Linked DNA regions of Homo sapiens: regions 1, 2, 3 and 4 are each linked to region 5. The links are contacts of gene promoters, found by promoter capture Hi-C in blood cells and fetal thymus (Javierre and others, 2016). All regions are on one chromosome and are shown on one strand. The core of a region is centred on a gene start or on the middle of the fragment in contact, and the rest is flanking DNA. Distances in the headings are between cores, read along the strand shown.

Region 1 (4,879 bases), core at 1,437-3,936, 230 kb before region 5:
TACAATGTGAAATGTTTGTGTCAGGAAGTCGGGGCGTCTAAATATTTTTGAGAGGTCAAACCTGCTAACAAAGCTGAGGCCTAACTTGGGCAAACACATACTTTTCCTAGAGTAACAGACACTGAAAAGGAAGCACAGTTACTGTATGTTCATTCTCATCTATTGTGGAATTCAGCTGGCTACCCTCATACTCAGACTTCACTCTGATGATAAAAAATTAAAACTCCTGAGACATAAGCATGCGTATTTCCTGTATCCTGCTATAATAGTAATAAGGACCAAATCAGAAAGAATTCAAGATTATACATGTACCTTTACCTTTTTTTCTAACTGAAAAGTCTAAAGTGAGGGCAGTGAAACCCTGTCAGTTAATATCCTTGTGATCCACATGTTTCAAAGACAGATGCCCTCTACTGGCGATGCTGTTTCATAAATATTCTAACAAGATGCATTAAAAATGTAAGAGCCTTTGGAGAGTCACAACAGAAGCACATTTTCCTGAGTAATGGGTAGTGTGGCGGCCTTGGCCTGTAATGAAGTTTGAAATTACATCCTTACAAAAGACCTCTAGTTAATGGTGCCTCATTACAAGAATGAAAGTGTCATTTCTTCCACTGCTGAACCGCTCCAAAAAACACAGGTGCTACTTGGAAAGAAAAAAATCCTAGCCCTAGAAGCAAGAATATTGTAGCACTTTGTCCTTAAGAGGCAGGAGTAACTATTTTGTTTATGCATGAGTGAATAAAGAAATCTTTAAATGAAAAAGATATGTTTACTGTGATAATTCTGACTTTTTAAGTCTCATTTATTCTCAGGTATGGGGGATCCAAATAGTTTTTTGCTCCTTTCCTGCTCTATTTTAATCTCGATGTATAGATTTACATCATGAAGAATAAAATACCACAAACATTGTTTTGACATAGTACCTTTTAAAAAGTCAAAATGTGCTCTTACATCATAGTCATCAAAGTCTCAAAAAGGAAAAAGAGTCCGTTGTCATTTATGTTGTGGATCTATTAATTTTCAAATGTTGCATCTAAAGGTGAACCTCAATAAACTAACAAACATTTATTTCCAGTACTAATTGATCCAATAAGTCTACATTTATCCTATTTTGTCAATTTCTCCATCTGTAACTATGGAGGGTCAACAACTGTGGTAGGAAGTATATCATAACAAGGTTTTTGTTTTTCAGTTAATGTATAAGGGAGAGGGTTGCTTTAGAATACAGCAAATTCTAACCATGTTTCAGAACAGAATTCTAATGTATTTCTTCCATCTCTTACCAAACTTCAACACTCTACTTTTCCAGACTATCCATACAATTTAGATTTTAACTGCATTTGACATTTAATTAAGGTCTGCAAAGGTTTTGAAGATGAAATGCCATATAATCATTTGATAACAATGAAGAAAATGACTATTCCTAGCCTCTTCTTTCCTGTCTTACCAATTACAGTCCTTCCTCTTTTGCAAAATTCTTCACATTACCAATGAATTCTTACACAAATCCCCGAGTTTTATTGTGTCCTCTCCCTTTAGCAGTTTTGCTCCTAACAGAACCTTTCTTTACATAAGTTCTTAATTCACTTCTAATTCACTGAGATAAACACCATGCTTAATGCTGAATCTAAGAAGTCTTTCAGAGAGAATGTAAAATGAAGCTTCAAGATGATACAAGCCATAAACATTGCTCCTGAGTTTTCTCCATTCCCAGCTCTGCCATTATCTGACTCAGAGACCTTGGACAAACTGCTTATCTTTTTTGGTCAAGTCTCAGGTTGTTCATATATAAAATTATGGCAAAGATCCTTTCTAGCTTTAAAACTTGATGTTTCTCTATTTGTATTTTATTTCCAAACCAGACAGACACACTGAAAGAAACTTACACTCTTCAACTATAGCATAACATTCCAGACAATTGCTTCACATGGCCCCTCCATTGCCAAAATTAAATCTGCAGGCCCCAACTGATTGTGAACTTGTGTTTCTCATCAACTGTACTCATTTTTTTTGGATCACCTGCTATAAAGCAATCTTTTTTTTTTCTAGTTTTTCTTCCCTAGGGAAATGTATGTTGGTTCCAGGCATGTGTCGACATACTCCCTTAAGACCAGCAAGCAAAAAGTTCATTTGCTTTTCCCATTGTCTCTACCATCAATAAATTATTCTTATTTGCTCTTAAAGGTACTTCTGTCTCTTCCACTTATTCCTTACGTGCCCACTACTACAATGGGCTACCTCTGGCGCAATTTCCCTTTCAAACTCTCCTGTTTTCATGAATTTTTAACCTATTTTGCCCTCACTCAGTAATGTAACAGCATTCCTCAGTTGCTGCGGCTTTGTCCTTCCACAGTCATCTCTGCCAACCTTGATTATACTCTGGAAGCCCTAAATCAACCATATCAAATGTCTAAATCTTGATATATCCTATTAAAGTAGAAATCAGAAACCCTTGCATCTGCAGTACGGTGAACACTGTTTCCACTAGCTTTGTACGAACTCTTCTCTCCGTACCCAAAATTTTTACCTCGTTTGCAGCCCCTAAATCAGGGGCAGGACAGTAGGCAGTTCCTGGCAAGGAAGCGGTTACCTATTTTCAAGCAAGACGGAAGAAATGCCCATCAGTTTAAGTTTGCTAACATCCCAAATATATTTTTTCCCTAGGGTACAGGGACAATAAAGTTCTTCTTTACCACTCCCAAAACAAAATCCTACCAAAATTGTGATCTTCTAGATTTGCCCTAGTCAGATATATTGTCCCTCTTACAGTGCCAAATTTCTCACACAGAAATGTGCTTCCTCATTTTAGAAAAACAATATAAAAGACCTTATGGAACATAATTAAAATATTTAAATCTGTCTTAATCTACTATTTAGATACTGTAGACATCTGGTAGACCCTAAAAGACATCTAAAAGACCCCAATGTTGTTAGGGAGAAACTAGCAACATTCATGCCAGAACAAACTCATGTTAGAAAACACTGACTTATTTCTTGTTCAAGGGAGCTGGTCCCCATTTTACAGATCCTGCAGGAACTTCAGAAAATACTGAGCAGTGCTGGATGTTATCAATTTAACAGAACTTGCCTGTGCAGGGCACTTTCTACTTTTCAAAGCACATCTATTATCTCGGGAACTTCACAAACCTCTAGTGAGGTAGGCAGGTCAGGTATTATTCCACTTTGCATGTGAGAAATGAAGATTCACAGGATAAAGTAACCAGCTCAAAGCCACAGAATTCTTCAAAGTGGGTTCAATTTCATAGTACAGGCTCCCAGATTTGCATGTACATATATATGTACACAAACATGCAGCCTGACACTGACGTACATGACTCATGTTTATGATGCAAACATCCTAGAATAAAATTAGGGAAACGTTCAAATAGTCCCCTGTTGTCAATTTCCTCTAGTTCTACTATTACCCTAAGCTGCTCTCGTTTCTCTGTTTTAATACTTGGTAGGCTCCCAAGTTATTTCTACTTTTATGCTGATGGAAAAAAACGCACCAGACTATCTCATGTCACCCACTCCTCCACATCTCCCACTTCCAAACTTCTAAGAGCCTAGAAACACATCAAAGGTAATGAATGAATGAGTAATTCAAAGATTCTCCTCAGTGAATGCTCAAAGGACTGCTGATTTTCATCAATAGCACAAAGGATATTTTGTAGAACCTTTTCCTTGAATGTCAAGGATATTTTATTAAGCTTAAGACATATCCAGGTAAAGCTAGTTCATCAAAGGTTTCACTCTCCTAAGTCTACTTGCGAGGTCCTCCTTCATCCTACACCCTGGGCAAGTCCAGCACATGGCCCATGGTCTCAAACCTACAGCAATAAGCGAGCTGCTGGCCCTTCTGATCTCAGGGACGAGATTCAAAATTCTAACTAATAGAATCTAATATTCATGTAGATTAACTTTATAGTGCCTTGTACTAGGTAGGTTCCCAACTTCAAGAATTCAATAGAATCAACTGTTTCACAAATTAGTATAGCAAAGTAATCTCTAAAGAAAGTTTAGGCATTTTAGTTTTTAATCCTACCAGTGAATTGAAACACCAATTTCATTTCCCAGTAACAATGTAATCCTTCACTATTTAGATGATAAAACTTTGTAAGTTTTAAGGGGGGGGTGTTACATAAACACCCCCTTATGAATCTGATAAAAACTACAGACCCTATCTTTAGAAAACTACGCACTTGACGCCCACATACAATTTTACATACAATTTCATGGGGTTATGAAACCCCCAGCACCTACCCATGAATCACAAGTTAAGAATCCTGGTGTAAAAATAACCAAAGGTATAAAGTTAGGAAAGGTGGGAAAATGAAACATAGGACCAAAAGAAAAGTTGGAAGAGGATGGAGGAGAGGACAGGAGATGCCGTAGCAGTGAGTAACTCTGGAAGTGGGTATAGGACTACGTGGCTCTGTACTTCAAAGTGCTCTCACTTCTTACATTTCATTTGATCTTTACAGTAACTCATTCAACAAAATGGATCAGTTGTTATAGCATACCTCCCCCCACTCCCTGCCAACTTTAAAGAGAAAAAAACTAATACTTGAATTGGTTATACAAGTTGCCCAAGGTCAAGTATCAGCACACAGCAAAACCAAGACCCAGTCCCAAGTCCTCAGGTTATTCTGTGTCATACCATTGGCTCCTAGGGAGAGAGGGAATTCAAAGGAAACAGAAGAAAGAAAAAAGACTGGAAAGGAAGCCCAGGAAACAGAAAGGAACTGGGTGAGAATAATATGATATAAAAAGTGAAAAGTGAAGCAAGAGAATGGAGAGGGAGATGAGGATGTAGTAGAGAAACTAAAAGGAGAAATAAGAACTTTCTGTCATCTTAAATATTATTAAAAAAAAC
Region 2 (4,668 bases), core at 1,876-4,375, 210 kb before region 5:
CTTCTTGTAAGTATAAAAGTCATTTAGGCTGGGTGCAGTGACTCATGCCTGTAATCCCAGCAATTTGGGAGACTGAGGTGGGAGGACTGCTTGAGGCTAGGAATTCAAGACCAGCCTGGGCAACATAACAAGTGAGACCCCATCTCTACTTTAATTTATACATTTTTATTTTTTTAAAAAAGGAAAAAGAGGCCGGGCGCGGTGACTCATGCCTGTAATCCCAGCATTTTGGGAGGCTGAGGCAGAGGGATCACGAGGTCAGGAGTTCGAGACCAACGTGGAGAAACCCTATCCCTACTAAAAATAAAAAAATTAGCCGGGCCTGATGGCGCATGCCTGTAATCCCAGCTACTCAGGGGGCTGAGGCAGGAGAATCGCTCGAACCCAGGGGGCAGAGTTTGCAGTGAGCCAAGATCATGCCACTACACTCCAGCCTGGGCATCAGAGCGAGACTCCATCTCAAAAACAAAAACAAAAACCACAAAAACCAAAAAAAGGAAAAAGTCATTTATACAATGCCAATTATGTAGGTACTCAAAATAAAACACAGTCCCTGCCATGTAGGAGTGAAAAGAATTTCACTGATGAGTCATTTCTACATCTTCCTCTCTTGTACCTGTCACACTGCCCAGCCTGCTTTGCAGAGAGGTCCAAAACTTCCAGCTAAGAACTTTTTAAATTAAGCATACACACACAAATATTATCCCTTCAAACACTCTACCCGTATAGGTAAAATGTAACAGGATTCATTTTTTTCTGTGCTTTAAAAGGCGTTTTTCAGCTAAAAAGGCTTATCTTTAAGTGTAGTTTTGTCTTCTCAGGTAGAAACACTTAATATGTTTTATATATTAACATATACTATCTCGTCTGGGCGCAGTGGCTTACACCTGTAATCCCAGCACTTTGGGAGGCCGAGGCGGGTGGATCACCTGAGGTTGGGAGTTCGAGACCAGCCTGACCAACATGGAAAAACCCCTACTAAAAATACAAAAAAATCAGCCGGGCGTGGCAGCACATGCCTGTAATCTCAGCTACTGGGGAGGCTGAGGCAGGAGAATCGCCTGAACCCAGGAGGCGGAGGTTGCAGTGAGCTGAGATCGTGCCACTGCACTCCAGCCTAGGCAACAAGAGTGAAACTCCGTCTCAAAAAAAAAAAGATATACTGTCTCTACTTTGTAATATACTATATATAATACATATTTTTATTATATATTATATACTATTTTTAGACACATTATTCATAAATAGAATACAGAAAGCAAGTTCCTGCCAATATTTTATGAAATTATTCTCTAAAACTCTGGCTGTTTACGATAAATACTTCAGGATTCCTAACTTATTTTATGTCAAAAAGAGTAAGCTGCTTGTTATCTTGGAGAGAAACAGTAATGTCGGTATAAGAATCACCTATTATAAAGTCAGGCCTGGGACAAAATGCTTCTGTTGAAAGCTGCTAACAGAGAGATTGTGTTCCGCTTACCTCCTCCTCACAGGCTGTACAGAATCATTGTCACTTCCACAGGAGGGGTTTCGGCGACGCGTGTAAGGGAACTTTGGCGACTTAGTGCGATCACTGGGAGAATTGTAGAGTCCACTGGAGAGAAAGAAAAATGGTCAAAAAGAGCCCAGAGAGTTCCTGGGGGAAAACACACCGCAGCCCAGACCTATTCATAACTGCACAGCTGGTACTTCCAGAGGCACATGCACCAGGGGCACGTGGTTCTCTTTGCTGACAAGATTTATTAAAAGAAAAGAGGTAAGATCTGGCAAATCAAATCATAAAGGTCATTATTTTGCAGGAATGCCATTTGTCTCACTAGCCTTCAGTAGTAAAAAATGAACACACACAAATAACAATAACAATTCATACATATGATGAATTTAGCCCTTTCTAAACACTGACTCAGCTAAAGACTTTACATTCATTATCTCAGCTAATCTTCATATCAGCCTTCAGCACTGAGATACAACTATTAAACCTATTAAACAGAAAAAAAATTGAAATATAGACTACTTAATTAAGTGGCCCAAATAAAGTAGCTAGGAAGTGGCAGGGCTAGAATTTGAACTATAAGTTACAACACAGGTCTGTCACTGGTTTGGTAGTTGTGACCAGAGATACACTAGACATATCCATATTTTTAGGAATAAAGGTCTTCCAGCATAACTATTCATCAGCTATAGTTTTTGACTTAAGTTTTTAACCAAAACTATGAAATGGGGAAAATTATTAATATGCCATTTAGAGTTTTCAGAAATATATTACCTTACAGGCAATTTCATAATATTTCCTAGGTTTCCCTTTTGCCTTTCCAGGAAAAAGTTTCATGTTATAAAACATACTGTTGATTTCCACTTCAGAAATCCCAGCCCCTCTCCCCTGGGTCACATTGATTTAGAGTCTGCCCACTTTATCCACAGCTAGCTGTGATCAGCCACCCAGCAGCTGGATTCCTTTATTCAATGAGCTGCATGTACTAACCCCTTTTCTACTGTCTCCTTTATAAAAACAATGATTCCCTTTACCTCTGGGGGCCATTTTCTTCCCACGGTGCATGAGATTTGCTTCTTTGGGTATCAGGGCTATTTTCATTCTTTGCTTTCTTAAAGCTTTAATTTTAAAAAAAAGTATGAGAAATAAATTAAGTAGAAAATAAAAGTAAACTCACATACTTATTTGTTAAGTAAAACTTTTTAACAAATGTTAAGATGTGCACACTTATTTGCTTGTTTATACCTGTGACTCTAAAAAGAACATGAAGTCGCTGCCCATAAAATCTGTCTCCAGCAAGTACCTTTGGGTCTTTCCCCCCTCTTTCTTTCTAGTTTTACTGCTTTAGTCAACAGATGCCAGGTCCATCAATTGTTAAGAAACTCTAGAGTCCACCTGCAGGAGAGGCAGCAAGGGGAACCACAGAGCCAAGAAAATAAGAAAGCCAAGGAGGAAGGACCTGGGCTACCCAGGATCTTCAGCCTGGCTCCCTTTTTACAACAGTGATCAGAGAAGCCCTTACTCCAGGCACGGGTCTGAATCCACACAGGTCGGTCAGCCCCGGGCAGGTTCAGGCTATTCAAACTGACCTTTTCCTGGCTTCCGCCTTATCTTGGCTTCATCCCTCCAGATGAGAATGACTTTCAAATGCTATTTCCTGACCTAGTATCATCTTTCAGTCCTAAGAATGTAAATGTAACTGAGTTGTTCTACCCTCAACAAATTGTTTTAGAAACCCCTGGGGAGACATGGAGGAAGGGACTAATCAGAAGCCTCCAGGCACCAGTGGGGAGGGGTGTGTCACCTCTCACATCCTCAGGAGTCTTAGCTTAAGATAAAGATAGAGCTATTTAACTCCAAATCCACTTTTAACCCTGGCTTTTTGAGGAATCCTCTGTATAACTGTCCTAGGATAGGGTCATAGAGGAGTACTTTGTAACAGCCAACAAAGAGGAGAGAGGAAAGATGACGAGGTATTAAAAAAAAAAAAAGACTTGCACCCTAGTATACTATCCATGATGGAATTAAAGTAAGCCTATAAAATTTTGTATCTGACAGAGGCATATAACCCATAGTATTAGTAGATGGCAGCTTAGTTTATTATTTTTATAAAGGCTAAAAACCTCTACAGATTCAATTCCCAAAGTAAAAGCTTACCTTTTGAAATGATGAAAATTAACAAATATGGCAGATATTTAATACGATAGTAGAAAGTGTATGGGATCAATAAATCAGAAAAAGCAAAGAGAAGGGAGAAGGGAGACTGGAAAAGAAATAGGGAGATAAAAGAGGAACTGAGAGAGTATACAAAAGTTAAAGAATAATAAAATCCTGGGTGACAAGTTAATTGCATTCACACCCTAAGGTATTTCTCATCTGAAGCTTGAGAGGAAAACTTTGGTGGTGCTTCAAGTACCAGTATCATCACAGGAATGTGGTTGCAAAGGGGATTGAAAAATATTGTTAAAATGGCCATACAGCCCAAAGCAATATACAGATGCAATGCTATTCCTATCAAACTACCAACATCATTTTTTCACAGGAAAGAACTATTCTAAAATGGACCCTCCCTCCAAAAAAGCCCAAACAGCCAAAGCAATTCTAAGCAGAAAGAACAAAGCTGGAGGCATCACACTACCTGACTTCAAACTGTACTACAAGGCTACAGTAACAAAAACAGCATGGTATGGTACAAAAACTGACAAAAAGACCAATGCAATAGGATAGAGAACCCAGAAACAAAGTCATACACCTACAACCATCTGATCTTCAACAAAAGCAACTAGAACAAGCAATGGGGAAAGGACTCCCTAAATGGTGCTGGGATGGCCAGTCATATGCAGAAGAGTGAAACTGGACCTCTTCCTTTTACTATATTCAAAAATCCACTCAAGATAGATTAAGAACTTAAATGTAAGACCTCAAACTATGAAAATACATCTTAGAAGAAAACCTAGGAAATATCATTCTGGACATCAGCCTTGGTGAAGAATTTATAACTAAGTCCCCAAAAGCAATTGCAACAAAACCAAAAATTGACAAGTGAGACTTTAAAGAGCTTCTGCACAACAAAAGAAACTATCAACAGAGTAAACAGACAATCTACAGAAAAGGAGAAAATATTCACAAACTATGTATCTGACAAAGGTCTAATATCCAGAATCTATAAGGAACTT
Region 3 (4,672 bases), core at 504-3,003, 200 kb before region 5:
GCATTGCTTCTCTAGTCTTGCAAAGCAGCTGGTTAAGTGTACAAGGTTGAAAGTCCAACAAACTTAGATTTATTTCTCAGCTCTGCCAGTTTACCCATTGTAAATTGATCCTGTGATCTTGGACAAGTTATTAAACTACTTTGGGCCACAGTTTTCTCCTGTGTAAAATGGGAACACCACTAACTACTTATATAGTGCACAGCTGGATTAAATTAGACAATTTATATAAAGCCTTTAGCACTGTGTTTGGAATTTAGTAAGTGCTAAATAACTGACGGCTGTGTTATTTGTATATGACTTAGTTCCTACAGATTAGGGGCCAAGCTTTATTCCATTTTCTGTGCTCTATAAAATAGGGTCTTATGCCAAAGAGGTGCCCAATAAATTCTTGTTGAATAAGAAGAAAAAGAAAAAAGGTGTCATTTATGGTAACTCACTAAAGCTGTGATTTTAACTTGAATATATAATAGCCCTTTCATTTTGCTTGCTTTTCTAATTTTCGTAGCTATGTTTGGAATGCTAAACACTCCCAAGAAGACTGAAAACATTAACTTTTTAGAGAAAATCTAACCAGACTCGCCATACATTAATAAATCTTTTACAGATGGAAAATAAGCCTAAGTTTCAAGGCAGAATAGAAAAGGATGCCAACAAAGGCTAACAGCCTGCAACAAACATACACCTGACTATATGGTCTACCTAATGCTCCTTGCAATTAACAGTTACTGCCTTTCCCCCTCTCTCTTGGCTAGGTAAGATGCCCCAAAGAACTTACACATTTTCTTCTAAAAATGGCTTAAAGTAAAAGTAGGCTGACTCTGACTATAAATGAGCAGAATGTATGGTCTTCTCAAGAGTATTTGTTGAAAACAAGTTAGAGCTACTGAAGAAATCACACATGGGGAAAAAACAGAAGTTGTATATTTTCAAATCATTCTAGACCTTTCACCTTTCTTAACTTCCATTTACTTTCCAAGCATGTACCATAGTATCCCAAAGACCTGGGTTAGGATCCTGGCTTTGCGCTTACTGCCTGTGTAATCTCAAACAAGTACTTAATGTTTCCATGCCTCAGTTTCCTCATCAGTAAGATGAGACTACCACCCATCTTTCTCATGGGGATACTGAAAGGGTTATACCCAGTAATGTTATCCACTGTTTTCATGCAAGGAAATCAGCTCAAATTAGAAAGGAATTCATGGTGAATGCACAACAGGATCTCACAGACTTCAGTTCATAGCTACTAAGCCTCCCTTCCCCTCTCTTCTCAAAGCTGTGTGATTCTCACAGTGAGCCAACTCCATTCTTCTTTCTCTGCAAACCAGCTTCTCTGTTCAAAGCTGTACCTGGTACCTGGACCGTAAAGCAGCCCCAAAAGGCTTGGTTGTCCCCAGATAACTGACTCATCTGCTGGACTGCACATCATCTTTTCTGGAGAAGGAATCTGGGCGGTTTCCTCAGAGGCCCCATTCTTACCCCAGGAGAGAAGAGAGGAGCAAGTCCACTGTTACAGAGGGCTCTTCCTCCACCCCTTCTGGACTCCTGCTCCAAAGACCAGCACAGTGCCAGTGACCCAAGGGCCAAGCAGGGCACCTGCTCCACAAGTGAAACTAGTTTTTTTTTTTTTTTTTAAGATGGAGTCTGGCTCTGTCGCCCAGGCTGGAGTGCAGTGGCACAATCCCTGCTTGCAACCTCTGCCTCCCGGGTTCAAGCGATTCTTGTGCCTCAGCCTTCCAAGTAGCTAGGACTACAGGTACACACCAACCATGTCCAGCTAGCTTTTGTATTTTTAGTAGAGACAGGGTTTCGTCATGTTGGCCAGGCTGGTCTTGAACTCCTGACCTCTGGTGATCTGCCCGCCTTGGCCTCCCAAAGTGCTGGAATTACAGGATTGAGCCACCGTGCCCGACCGAAAGTAGTTTCTTTCTTCTTTACCTCACCTATCTCTCCCTATAACCTACCAAAATAACCCTGAACTCTGAGAACCCCCAAAATCTTTAACATTGATATTAATAAGTAATGAGTAACTTATGGCCAAACAGAGCCAATAAAAAAATCAATCCCAGAGTTTTCAAAGTCTGAAGAAAATACTGGCATAGAAACCATCACCTCAGAACAATGAATTCTGATAGTAAAGCAAAGGTGTGGAATCCTCAGATGCCATCTACTCAGGAATATCTATCCCCAAAACAGAATCCCAAACCGCTGACAGACACACCCTCCAGCCCCCACCTGTCAAGAACAGGAGGGGTAAAAAAACAGGTAAATTTGCCCAATGCATTAGTAAAATCAAGAATTGCAACAACAAACAACTGCCGAGGTAGAGCCAATTCCCACTGCTGACTTCCAAAAGAAGGAGCAGGTTCAAGAAACGACTAGTCTAAGGTTGTGTTCACACACAACTCAAAGGCAGAGACAAAGCTATGCAAAAACTTTCTAAGAAGGAATGTCTTCTTTTTATTTTTACCCAGAAAGACAGCACTTTTTAACTATGAGTTAACCAAACAGGCAAAATCTCATATTCATCTCGTCAGTTTGGACTAAAAGAATAATTTTTAAACTGTAATAGAGCCATGGTTAAAGTTAACTTTATTCAATTTGTCAATAAGAGTTTCATTTGAACTTTAGGCTTTTTTCTTTTGAGACGGAGTCTTACTCTGTCACCCATACTGGAGTGCAGTGGCGCGATCTCGGCTCATTGCAGCCTCCGCCCCGCAGGTTCAAGCGATTCTTCTGCCTCAGCCTCCTGAGTAGCTGGGATTACAGGCGCCTGCCACTGCGTCCGGCTAATTTTTGTATTTTTAGTAGAGACAGGGTTTCACCACGTTGGCCAGGCTGGTCTTACACTCCTGACCTTGTGATCCACCCACCTCAGCCTCCCAAAGTGCTGGGATTACAGGTGTAAGCCACCGCATCCAGCCTGAGATGTTTTAAAGAATTGGCTAGAAGGTTTTTCCAAACACAAAAAGTACTGTGTATTTCCAATGGCAAAACTACATTTTATAATCTGGGAAGATCTTTTTCACAACTTTGCAAGACTTTTGAAATGGTAAAAACCCATATACTTAAAAAAAAAACTTTCTAAAATTCCACTGTATCTATTTTTCATATTTGGTCCTTCCAACTCTGTGGGCAGGTAAGTCAGACAGAATAAAGGAATTTTAGAAAGAAGAGGAATCTTTAAAGCTTACATACCCAATTATTGTATTTTATGGATAAAGGGATGAAAGCTGAGAATGCTGAATGACAAGTTACAGGTCACAACCAAGGCAGACCAGGAATTCAGGGCTACTCAAATCAGGTACAACTTTCACACTCTTTTTTTTAAGCTCCCCTACCACCCCACTAAGTCGCTTCTCAATTAAATGGCTTAAATAATCAGTCAAGAGGTAATTTAAACATCCCTCAGAGCAGAGGTTCTTACAAAGGAGAGAGGGAGGGACCACAGACTTGGACCATAACTCAGTCAATGGTCTAATTCTGATCTGTGCACTTGGAAAAGAAGAGCCACAATCACACTTTTGCCAAAACAAAGCTCCTCCACCATATTTTCAGAAATCATCTCCATAGCCACCCATATAACAATTCTAGGTCAGAATGTCTTGTTCTAACCCTTTTGTATGAAAATTTATACTAACTTCTTCCTTTTTCTGACCCAGAAGAAATAAACAAAAACTTCACAATACCCGTCAAAGGCCGGATAGATGTGAGAGCTATTATTATGTTACTGTCTTTTCCCAGTTTCTTTACCCTCTCTTTTCCCAAACATTCCTCCTTGCTAAGTGATTCTCATCCAGACATCCTCCACATTCTAGAACTTGCTACACCTGCAAATCATCACTTCTTTGGGTGAAAAACACAAAGCGTCCTCTACTTCATTTAATCCAAAGACTCTATACCATGAGTCTTCCTCATGAAATGGAGCACCCTCTGGCTTGAGGACTTATATGCCATCTTATGTACTTTAATCCTGGACTTATGCCCCTCTCCTTGAAGACTCTGGTTGTGTCTGCTATAACACAGGAGAAATTCCTAACATTTGAGTTTTGTACAATTGATCTTATATTGCTCTTTCTCTGTAAATCACAATGATCTAGGGTAAGAACAATGTCTCAGCTCTGAGCTTATTGAGAATGTCTCTATTGGAAATGTGGATGAGCATTTGTGAACTTCATGCATTCATGACAGTAATCTGTAGGGCTTTTGAAAAGTGCTTGGTAAAAATTCAAATGAAAATAAATCTCTCTCCCACTGCCAATCCCCATTCTCTCAGAAACGCTTCCCAAAGGCCACTACTGTTACTAGTTTCTAATGTATCCTGCCTGCAAGTATTATCTGCATGCATACTTTCCCACCCAATTTGTCTTTGTATATAATGGTAACACATTAAATACTACCGGGCCCCTCTGCTTCTCTGCCCCCACCATTTATATACCATATCCTGGAGATCATTTCGTATCTGTACATACAAATGTAACACATTCTTTCTTAGTCTTTCGTCTCTATATTGTAGACTGTAACTGACCTGTGTTCATATCTCAGCTTTGTGACTCTGTACAAGTCTCAGCCTCTGCTTTCTCACCTAAACATTGAGAATTACAGCATCTTCTAAAAGAGTAAGCTACTATCTGCAGAGTGTCTAGCACAGTGCCAAGCACATGGTAATGCTCAG
Region 4 (5,135 bases), core at 670-3,169, 180 kb before region 5:
TTTGGCTTCCTAGAGCAGGTAAAAGTTGCTTACATTACACTGTAGTCTATTAAGTATATAACAGCATTAGGTCTTAAAAAAACATATATACTATAATTTAAAAATACTTCATTGGTGAAAAATGGTAAAAGTCATCTGAGCCTTCAGGAAGTCATAATCTTTTGGTTGGTGGAAGGTACTGCCTCAATGTTGATGGCTACTGACTGACCAGGGTGGTAGTTGCTGAAGGTTAGAGTGGCTATATCAATTTCTTAAAATGAGACAACAATGAAGCTTTCTGTGTTAATGGACTCTTCCATTGAAGAAAGATTTCTCTGCAGCACGTGATATTGTTTGATAGCATTTGACCCACAGTAGAACTTCTTTCAAACTTGGAGTTAATCTTCTCAAACCCTACCACTACTTTATCAATTAAGTTTGTGTAATATTTTAAATCCTTTGTTGTCATTTTAAAAATGTTCACAGCATCTTCACCAGGAGTAGATTCCAACTCAAGAACCACTTTTGTTCATTCATAAGAAGCAACTCCTTATTCCTTCAAGTTTTATCATGGGATTGCAGCAATTAAGTTATACCATCAGGCTTCACTTCTAATTCTAGTTTTCTTGCTATTTCTACCGCATCTGCAGTTACTTCCTTCACTGAAGTCTTGGACCCCTCAAAGTCATCGTGGGGGTAGAAATCATCTTCTTTCAAACTCCTGCTAATCAGAATAATTTGACCTCCTGCCATAAATCATAAATTATCTTAGGGGCATCCAGAATGGTGAATATTTTCCAGAAGTTTTTCACTTTGTTTGTCCAGATCCATTAGAGAAATCATTATCTATCGCATCTATAGTTTGTAGAAAGTATTTCTTAATACTTGAAAGTTGAAGTTACCTCTTGATCCATGGGTTGCAGAACAGATACTGTGATAGCAGGCTTGAAAGCAACATTAATCTCCTTGTACATCTCCATGATAGCTCTAGAGTAACTAGGTGCACTGTCAATGAATAGTAATATTTTGAAAGGAATCCTTTTTTTTCTGAGCAGTAGATATCAACATTGGGCTTAATATATTCACTAAGCCGGCCCAGGAGTGGTGGCTCATGCCTGTAATCCCAGCACTTTGGGGAGCTGAGGCAGGCGGATCACCTGAGGTCAGGAGTTCAAGACCAGCCTGGCCAACATGGCGAAACCACATCTCTACTAAAAATACAGAAATTAGCTGGGCATGGTGGCAGGCGCCTGTAATCCCAGCTATTTCGGAGGCTGAGACAGGAGAATGGCTTGAATCCGGGAGGCAGAGGTTGCAGTGAGCCGAGATCGTGCCACTGCATTCCAGCCTGGGTGATAAGAATGAGACTCTGTCTCGAAAATATATATATATATATCTATGTATATATACACACACACACATATATATATGTGTGTGTATATATATATATATATTTTGTTTGTTTGTTTGTTTCCTAAGCCATGCTGTAAATAGGTGTGCTGTCATCCAGGCTTTGTTTTTCCATTTATAGAGCACAGAGTACAGTTAGCATCATTTGTATAGAACCCAGAATTTTCTGAATGGTAAATGAATATTGGCTTCAACTTAAAGTCACCAGCTGCAGTAGCACCTAAAGAGACAGTCACCCTGTCCTCGGAAGCTTTAATGCAGGCATTGACTTCTCGTTATAGCTATGAAAGTCCTAGATGGCATCTTCTTCCAACAGAAGAAGGTTGTTTTGTCTCCACTGAAAATCTGTTGTTTAGTGTAGCCACTTTCATCAATAATCTTAGCTAGATCTTCTGGATTACTTGCTGCAGCTTCTAAATCAGTACTTGCTGCTTCACCTTGTACTTTTTATGTTATCGAGATGGCTACTGTCCTTCAACCTAATGAACCAACCTCTGCTAGCTTCCTACTTTTATTCTGCAGTTTCCTCACCTCTCTTAGACTTCACAGAATTGAAGAGAGTTAGAGCCTTTCTCTGGATTACAGACTTTGGTTTAAGGAAATGCTGCAGCTTGTTGGATCTTCTATCCAGACCATTCGAACTTTCTCCAAATTAGCAGTAAGACTGTTTTGTTTCTTATTATTTTTGTGTTCACTACAGTAGCTCTCCAAATTTCCTTCAAGAATTTTTTCTTTGCATTCACAACTTGGCTAACTGGCACAAGAGGCCTAGCTTTCAGCCTATCTCACCCTTTAAGATGACTTCCTCACTAAGCTTAATCATTTCTAGCATTTGATTTCAAATCACAGATGCACAACTATTCCTTTCAGTTGAACCCTTAGAGGTTATTGTAGGGTTATTAACTGACCTAGTTTCAATATTACTGTTTCTTGGAAACTAGGGAGGCCTAAGGACAGGGAGAGAGACAGGGAATGGCCAGTCTGTGGAGCAGTCAGAACACATGCATCATTTATCAATTAAGATCGCTATCTTACATAGATGCAGTTTGTGGCACCCCAAATCAATTGCAACAGTAACATCAAAGATCACTGATCACAGATCACTATTGAAGTGGCTACACTGTCTGGGGTATATACCTTGGGGTTCATTGTCACGCATTGAGAAAGAATTCAGGTGGGTTAAGGGGTGGAAAGTTTAATAGAGAGAAGAAAGGAGGGAGGAGGGCAGCTCCCTGAGAAAGAGAAAGAGACGTCTGAAAAAGGCTGGGAGGCCATGGACCACAGCAGATTTTATAGGCAGGCTGCAGAAGGCGGTGTCTGATTTATATAGGGCTCACAGATTGGTTTCATCAGATATGATGTCTACATAGTGTGCGGGGAAGGCTGGTCACCCTACCGTAATCTTCTTATGCAAATAGGCTTTCCAGTTGATCTGCGCCATCTTGTCTGCTCCTTTATAGTATGTGTGGCTGGCAGAGAAGGGAAGATGGACCCACCATTTTGAAAATGTCTAGTCCTTAGTTCCTGCTGGCACCCACCTGTGCAAGCTCCTAGCTTGCAGGGTGCTCTTTGTTAGAAAATGATTCAGGACTGCTTTTCATTAGAAAGTAGAGCCTTATCAAGCGCCCGTGCCCTTGTTATCTACCTAATTCCTTCTTAGCTCCTGTATCATTATAACGTATGTAATAATAATGAAAAAGTTTGAAATACTATTGCAAGAATTACCAAAATGTGACACAGTGACACGAAGTGAGCATGTGCTTTTGGAAAAATGCTACCAACAGATTGACAGGGTTGCCACAAATCTTCAATTTGTAAAAAAAACACAGTATCTGCAAAGCACAATAAAGTGAAGTGCAAAAAAAAAAAAAAGATATGCCTGTAATTCTAATTTTGCAGAAAATACTATTTATATTTTAAGTAACTGAACAGAAAACTAAGCAAAACACAATATGAATGCTAACACAATAAACCACAAGCTCTGTGAAGTTATATACTTGCTAATTTAATTTCAAAGCTACAAACCAAACTCAAGTCTCAAATGCAGCAAATGCCTCTGAAATGAGGTTTCTACGGACTCATAAACATAAAACAATCAATGCAAAAGAATAATTGAAATGATTTGTCTCCTACTTTTAATAAGGACAGAATATTTATATGTATAAAATTTCTCCCAAGTCCAACTTGAATGATGCTGCCCAACTTAGGAGTTTATTTGTAAGATGAAGAGATGTGATGGAAACAAAGCCAACATGCACACATTACAGCAAGGCTATCTGTAATTCCAAAACCTTGTCTGGTAAAAAAAGAAAGGAACATTTTCAGGTTTCTGGCTCGGGTGCTACTAAAATATAGCAAGTGGAAAAAATGGGCATTTGGATGACAAGGGAATAGACAATAAGTTCAGGTTGAAATATTCTGATTTTGAGGTCCCATGGGACACCTAGAGGGCCAAAGGATGCAGGTCAGAGAGCCAGAGAGAGGGCACATCTACTCACACAGGTGATCTCACCAAGTGAACAAGACTGCTCAGGGAGAGTGCGCAGAATGGATGAAGGTGGAATCACTGCAAAGACGCTCCTGAAGGTGGAGTGAGAGAGGTCCAAACATACCAGAAAAGAGTGTCAGAGAGGCTGGGAAGAGAGAGTGCAACTCTCAAGTGACCCAGAAAAGTCAAATCGAGTTTGAAAGGAGGTTACCACATTTCACGGTAAGAAATCTTCCGAGGCCTTTGTGAAAGGGATAGGGATTATACAATTAGAGGTGAGGAAGAAAAGTCAATGAATTCAGAAAGTGTTTTCCTTAGCAGCAAAAGAAACTGGTGGCAGAGCTGGGAAAGGGGACACACAGAAAATCACAGAAGCTCCTCCGGGCAGGGAGGGAAAGCCCAGGCTTTTGTCAGAAGATAGGAGCCCTTAGGGAGAAATTTTTTTTTCTTTTAGTTTTCTTTTTTTAAATATCCAGTCATGCGTTGTATAAGGATGTCTTGGTCAATGATGGATCGCATATACAACAGCGGTTCCTTAAGATTATAAAACGTATTTTAACTGTGCCTTTTCTGTGTTTAGATGTGTTTGGATACATAAATACTTACCATAGTGTTCCAATTGCCTGCAGTATTCAGTACAGTAACATGCTGTACAGGTTGGCAGCCTGAGAGCAATAGGCTATACTGTATAGCCTAGGTATTGTGAAAGGAAATTAAATTTGGGGACCCCAAACTCATTTAGCTAAAGGGAAAATTCAAGCTGGGAACTGGGTCACGCAAACCTGCCTCTCCTTTTTGGTTCCTAAATAAGATTGCTACAAGATGAAAAGCTACATGCCTCCCCCATATTTTTCTCATAAGGAAATTCCTAGTGAGCTGTTAAAACTTTACCATGGCAATGCAAACTGATAGCTTTATCTTTACAGGTACAGTCACCCCAGACACAAACGCATATCTGACTCTTCCCTTACCCTATTTTGTCTGTGTTATCTGATGTAAAATACAGATTCTCCACATTTTTCCTCTGCCCCTTTGTGTCATCCTATGTAAAAAAAATGTAGATTCACTGAGGCAGACAAAGGCATGAATGACTATTTTTCCCTACCCCCCTCTTACATGAAAACAGTGTGCTTCTCAACTCCCATCTTTTGCCCTTTAGATGTAGAGCTCTCAAAATCATCTTTGGAGAAAGGCATAGACCTGTCTCCCTGGCATGTCCTTAACTTTAGCAAATAAATCTCCTAAAATGATTGAGACT
Region 5 (5,177 bases), core at 1,099-3,598:
GCATAGAAGATAATGTGATTAGCTTTAGCAGACAACATCTGTGTTACACACATGGCCATCAAAATAATTGTGGCATGCTTTTGTGACAAGGACAGAGGCCAAGCCTGTTGTTAAATGATTATTTCCAACAACAGCCTGCTTAAATTATTGTTTAGTTATATGGCCCATATCCAAAGTAACAGTATTACATAGTTGCTGTTGCCTTTGAATCACTCACCAATTTTCAGCCCATTTGTAAAACAAGATAAGCACCACTGGATTATAAAAAATAATTATGGATCAGGATTTTTGATTCATGTTTCTTTGACAAAATTATTCCATTTGATCCCAAGTCCTGGCTGCTCTCTTGACAGAATAATGTACACGCTCTACAGCTGATAGGCATGACTTTGATGATTAAATAGGAAGCTCACATTCCAGATGACTTTAGACTCCAGATAATTTAGACTTTGCACTTCAAAAAGATTTCTTTACTGTCTTAGTATCTGATCATCAGTTACCTTTTTCTAATTGTTTCTATCTCGACACAAGAATCTATATATTATCTACAATTTAGGATGTTTTTGTGATTTTTGCCTATTTTATTCATACAGTACACCAAAGAATGTTACATCATCTTGTAAGTTACAATATTTTCCTGATTTCATTGGGCGGGTGAGAGGAGAAATATTTTGGAACATAAAGAAAAGTTAAAAATACAAAATGTACACCCTCCCCGAAAAGAGTCTATTTTATTGGTCTTGAAAGGAAATACCGAATGAGAATCGAACTGAATTTTGCTCAGTATAATTACTGGGGAAACAATATTCAAAACAACCTCCTAAAGGAAAGGGTTAACAATCTTGTAGCTTTAACTGATTATTTTTGCTCCTTTCTCCCGCAAAAGAATTACACCTATGAAACTGGAATTCTGTACACTAAGAATGGCAACATTAACGCTGAAACTTTTAGCCAGGAATAGTTATCCTAGTGTGCATAAAACTATGTAAAAACTGATTCACAAAAGGAAATGCCCAGGGCCTACCCCATTATGATTAACTTCTGAGATGAAGCGACTAAGAGAGGATACTTGGCAGCCTGAACTCGATTTCTCAGAAAGCCAGCTCTATCAGAGCGGGGGCGGGGGGGCGGTTTCCCTTCACCAGACTCAGCTGTTGCCTTATCTAAAATGCCTTAGCGATCTAAAACTGAAAGAGAAAGATAAACAAAACAACAAAACGCTCCGGATTTAGATCTCCTTTAGGTAGTTAACACTGTTGCAAAAGCAAAACAAGCACGCAGGCGCGTCGGTCAGGTTGTCACTACAAACATACGTACCTTCTCATCCAATGTAAGGAAGAGGATCTCTGCGAGCTCTGCTGCCTTTTTGTTTGGGCTCTCTAGGTTAATGTAGTGATTGCATTTTAATGACCCACAAACAGGAGCAAAGTTATTACTGGGTCGCTTTGAGAGATGTTTACTTAAATGTGAGGATAAACCCAGGTCGCTGTAGAAAGGGAAAATATTTTCCGTCCAAACGTAGCATTACCCAACTACGAACCCACGCAAAACAATCACAATGACCCATTAATGCGTTTCAACGAGTGAACTAGTTCACTTCCCTAATAACACTGTCAAGGAAAACGCCTTCAACAAAGTCGAGGGAAACCATGCCTTCCACACTGGTGGGACGCAGCTGGTATAACCCATTCTGCCCCTCTTTGAGAGCTGCGGGGCACCCAGAGGCTTTTGGAGAAAACCGGTTTGGGGAAGAGTTTTGGGGTGCTGCTGGGAGCCGGTGTGCTGAGTAAACTTAGAAACGTCAAACTCAACTTTGCTTTATGAAGGAACTCAAAGTTAACTCACCCTGGTACGTCCACCCTCTCCCTGCGCGCAGGGGACAGCGGCCTCTCCTCCCCACCGCGCAGAGTCGCGGCCGCCGCCCTCGACCCACCGGTGACAGCCCTCAAAGCGATGGACCCCCGCACCCGCCCTGCCGCCAACCCCCGGAACGCGCTCCGGGCCGCACCCACCTTGATGCCCTGCTGCTGGGTGGTAAGGGTTAACTTGGATTCATCCAGGAGCAAAACTTCGCAGTAAAATTCTTCCGGAACAGCGCAGAAACAGCCCATGTCGGTTGTGGTCGTCTCCAGCCAGGAGAGAAAGCTACCACCGAGGCGCCCAGCCGCCCCCTCCACTCAAGCGCGATGCATTAATTTATTGTCCGCGCCGTGGCGAGGGTGAGACGAGCAGCTCCCGGCGGGGTCCGGGGACCGGCCGCCGAACCGCCCGGCGGGGCGGGAGCGAGAAAGGCGGAAAAGCCCGGGAGAGTCAGCGCCCGGGAGCCGCCGGGGAAGCGCCGGCGGAACTGGGCGCGGAGGGCGGTGGCGCGTCCCCGCGCATCCTGCGGCTCGAGCTCCTCCGAAGGCGGGGGCGCGGGGCCCCTCCCGCAGTCCTGGGGACGACAAAAGTCTCCTGGCACTGGGGGCAAGAGACCAGAAAAAGGAGTGATGGGAATTCGAGGCTCTCCCCGGCCTTGGAAAACCCTGGAAGCGCTGCACCTCCCTCCTGCCGCACGGATTTGAGCGCGGCCCCGACGTCCTGGCGTCCGATCGGCCTGCGGAGTCCCCCGCGGGCGCGCACTTCCAGCCGCGACCCCGCCCCGCAGCCCCGGGTCAGATCCGCCGAGTATGAAGCGCTCGGCTTTTCTTTTGTGTGAGGAGCACCCACGACGCCCCGACCATGGGCGCAGGGGCAGAGGCGAAGGTCGTCGCTCCGTCCGCTACCCCGTCCCCCAGCCGCAAGCGCCGAGGAGCCGGAAGAGAGGCGGAAAGGGCAGCAGGCTCCTTACCCAGACCAGCGAGGGGAGGTCAGCTCGTCGCGGGGTGTGGCTCCCGTCCGGGGACTCCCGAGCTCATTACGGGTGGCCGTGTGTAGCCAAGTTCAAGCTCTCCCTCCGGGAATGCCTGCCGCGGCGGCGGAATACGGCTTCTTCAGGACATTCAGCAAAGCGGGGAGGCGGGGACCTGCGGGCGGAGGAGCGACGCCCCAGCTGGGAACGCGGCGGACGGGCGAGCGGGGGGTGCGCCCTGGGCGCGCCAGGCCGCAGAGGCTCCGGGGAAAGTTCTCTTGGCCGCGCGAGTGGTGGCGCCCCGGGCGGGAGCAGCCCAGGTGCATGTGGGCCCGGTCCAGGCGTCTGCAAAAAGCCCTGGAACGAAGCGGACCCCCCAGTCCAGCGCTGGCCGCGGCAGGGGAGCCCCTTCTGGGCGGGGTATCAGCTGGGGGCGGAGGGCGGGGCAGAGACCGTGGTCCCAGCGGCGAGGTGCCGGCGAGTCCACGCTGCCAAGCCGCACACTGCGCCCAAGCCGCGGGGCAGTCCAGCGCTCGCTGCGTCCTTCCCCCGAGAGACCTGGAGGCTGGGTGGGGAGAAGAGGACGCGGTGCTGCTCGGACCCCACGGTTCGGCGGTCCCAATCCCACGCCCTCCGCGCGGTCGGCCGCGTCCAGGACTGAGGGGCACAATAGCTCTGAAGCTGCAGTGACCCCTGGTGGGTCCCGATGTCCGTGCACAGGCAGCCGAGGTTGAGCTGCGGACGACACTGAGCCCCGCTGGGCTTCGGAGCAGGTGCAATCTGTGCTCTCCAGCTGGGAACCAGCAGCGAGTTAATGCGAGTCGCAGTTAGGGGAGACACGAGGGGAGGTGTCACAGAAAAAAAACTCTATATTGAGTTTTAGAGTTAGAGCTTTGGCATCAGACGTAGTTTTGAGTTGACTATTCTACTGCTTGTTAGCTGGGTAGCCAAAGCTCAAAAAAAATTGCTTAAAACCTAGGACGTTAGCCCTTAAAACAAAACCAGGCTTCCGTAGCACAGTAGAAATGAAATGAACAATTGGCGACTTTTGATGGAGTTTCCTCTCATAGTGATTTGCCACAAAGGACCTTCTGTAGGAAGCCTCGGCCTTCCCTGCTATTGTGACCCCATCCAAACACAGGATCAGCATAACCGCCAAAGTGCAATATAAATTTCTGAACTTTACCTAGGCTATGAATAAAACTATTTTATCTTCTGAATTTTCTGTGAAATTGACTCAGGTTTTGAATTTCTGATCAAATTTCGTGTCCAGCTTTGTTTTATTGTCAAAGTCTTGCCTGCCTTATGAGGTGACACCTTATTATGCTAGATTTTAGCATTTCTGCTTGTAGAGGCTTTTCTTTTCTGTAATACAGTATTCCTGACAGGAGTTACCAAATGTGATTGAAAGATGGCTTAACATTTTCATTCTTTACCTCCATATCCAACCGAGACACTTGAGGCTGCAAAAACAAAAGGTTCAAGCAATCATCTGTTCCCAGTTTTTTTGAGTTTTGCTCTCACCTGTTTTTTGGCCCTTTGATTTGGTTTTTTTGCTTTCTGATTTTTGGTTTTGCTGTTGTTTGTTTTTGTTTTTTTACCTCCAGTGGCAGTGAGAAGGCTGAGGGTTTTGGATGGGCAGGGATTCTGTTCCCAGCTCCTCATAAGGTAAGTTACAAAGCCATAAGGTCCCATACATATGACACTCTTTCCTGAGTGAAGCATTTTCTTTTCCATTTCTTTATCGGAGACTGGAGAAAAGAACATTTAAAATCTATTTAACACAAAATTAGAGATTACTAGTGACAAGAGGATTCCACAGAGTTTCTAAGGATAGCTTTATTGCATATAATTTACATACAGTTCACTGCATAATTTTTAAGTGTACAATTTGATAAGTTTTGACATAAGTGTGCACCCATGAACCCACCACCATAATCAAGCTAGTACACATATTCATCCCTCCCTAAGGTTTCCTCCTGCACTTTGTCATCTTTCTTTTTTTTTTTTTTTTTTTTGAGACAGAGTCGCGCTCTATCAGAGTGCAGTGGCGCGATCTCGGCTCACTACAACCTCCACCTGCCGGGTTGGAGCAATTCTCCTGCCTCAGCCTCCCAAGTAGCTGGGACTACAGGAGTGCGCCACCATGCCCTGTATTTTTAGTAGAGACAAGGTTCCACCATGCTGGCGAGGCTGGTCTCAAACTCCTGACCTCATGATCCGCCCGCCTCAGCCTCCCAAAGTGCTAGGATTACAGGTGTGAGCCACCGCGCCTGGCCACTTTGTCATCTTACACTCCCATTCCTCAGTACGACTCACCTCCCAGGCAACCATAGATCTGCTTTCT

The links. Contacts are between HindIII fragments. The CHiCAGO score rates a contact against its expected background, and 5 or more counts as called.
Region 1: a contact is called between a fragment that was not itself captured here and the fragment with the promoter of EPB41L4A in region 5, in 5 of 17 cell types (endothelial precursors, erythroblasts, megakaryocytes and 2 more). The highest score is 12.8, in endothelial precursors.
Region 2: a fragment that was not itself captured here is called in contact with the fragment with the promoter of EPB41L4A in region 5 in 5 of 17 cell types (endothelial precursors, erythroblasts, megakaryocytes and 2 more); the score reaches 20.4 in endothelial precursors.
Region 3: a fragment that was not itself captured here is called in contact with the fragment with the promoter of EPB41L4A in region 5 in 1 of 17 cell types (endothelial precursors); the score reaches 8.6 in endothelial precursors.
Region 4: a fragment that was not itself captured here is called in contact with the fragment with the promoter of EPB41L4A in region 5 in 1 of 17 cell types (endothelial precursors); the score reaches 6.2 in endothelial precursors.

What each region holds. Positions count from the first base shown.
Region 1 is chr5:112,186,180-112,191,058 of GRCh38, forward strand. The region is part of intron 17 of EPB41L4A (erythrocyte membrane protein band 4.1 like 4A); the gene reads right to left. Among named protein-coding and RNA genes, the nearest start is that of SNORA13, 27 kb to the left of the region's middle. The HindIII fragment of the contact is 2,049 bases long and covers 1,663-3,711 here.
Region 2 is chr5:112,202,895-112,207,562 of GRCh38, forward strand. It overlaps EPB41L4A (erythrocyte membrane protein band 4.1 like 4A), which reads right to left. Exons shown (of 23, transcript NM_022140.5): 14 at 2,527-2,610; 15 at 1,481-1,594. Among named protein-coding and RNA genes, the nearest start is that of SNORA13, 44 kb to the left of the region's middle. The HindIII fragment of the contact is 1,034 bases long and covers 2,609-3,642 here.
Region 3 is chr5:112,221,329-112,226,000 of GRCh38, forward strand. The region is part of intron 12 of EPB41L4A (erythrocyte membrane protein band 4.1 like 4A); the gene reads right to left. Among named protein-coding and RNA genes, the nearest start is that of SNORA13, 62 kb to the left of the region's middle. The HindIII fragment of the contact is 2,862 bases long and covers 323-3,184 here.
Region 4 is chr5:112,241,860-112,246,994 of GRCh38, forward strand. The region is part of intron 9 of EPB41L4A (erythrocyte membrane protein band 4.1 like 4A); the gene reads right to left. The region is part of intron 1 of LOC101927023 (a long non-coding RNA gene); the gene reads left to right. Among named protein-coding and RNA genes, the nearest start is that of SNORA13, 83 kb to the left of the region's middle. The HindIII fragment of the contact is 564 bases long and covers 1,638-2,201 here.
Region 5 is chr5:112,416,929-112,422,105 of GRCh38, forward strand. It overlaps EPB41L4A (erythrocyte membrane protein band 4.1 like 4A), which reads right to left and starts at 2,349. Exons shown (of 23, transcript NM_022140.5): 1 at 2,013-2,349. The coding sequence starts at 2,111. It overlaps EPB41L4A-DT (EPB41L4A divergent transcript), which reads left to right and starts at 2,655. Exons shown (of 1, transcript NR_027706.1): 1 at 2,655-4,050. RefSeq lists a silencer at 3,014-3,103. The HindIII fragment of the contact is 9,034 bases long and covers 1-5,177 here.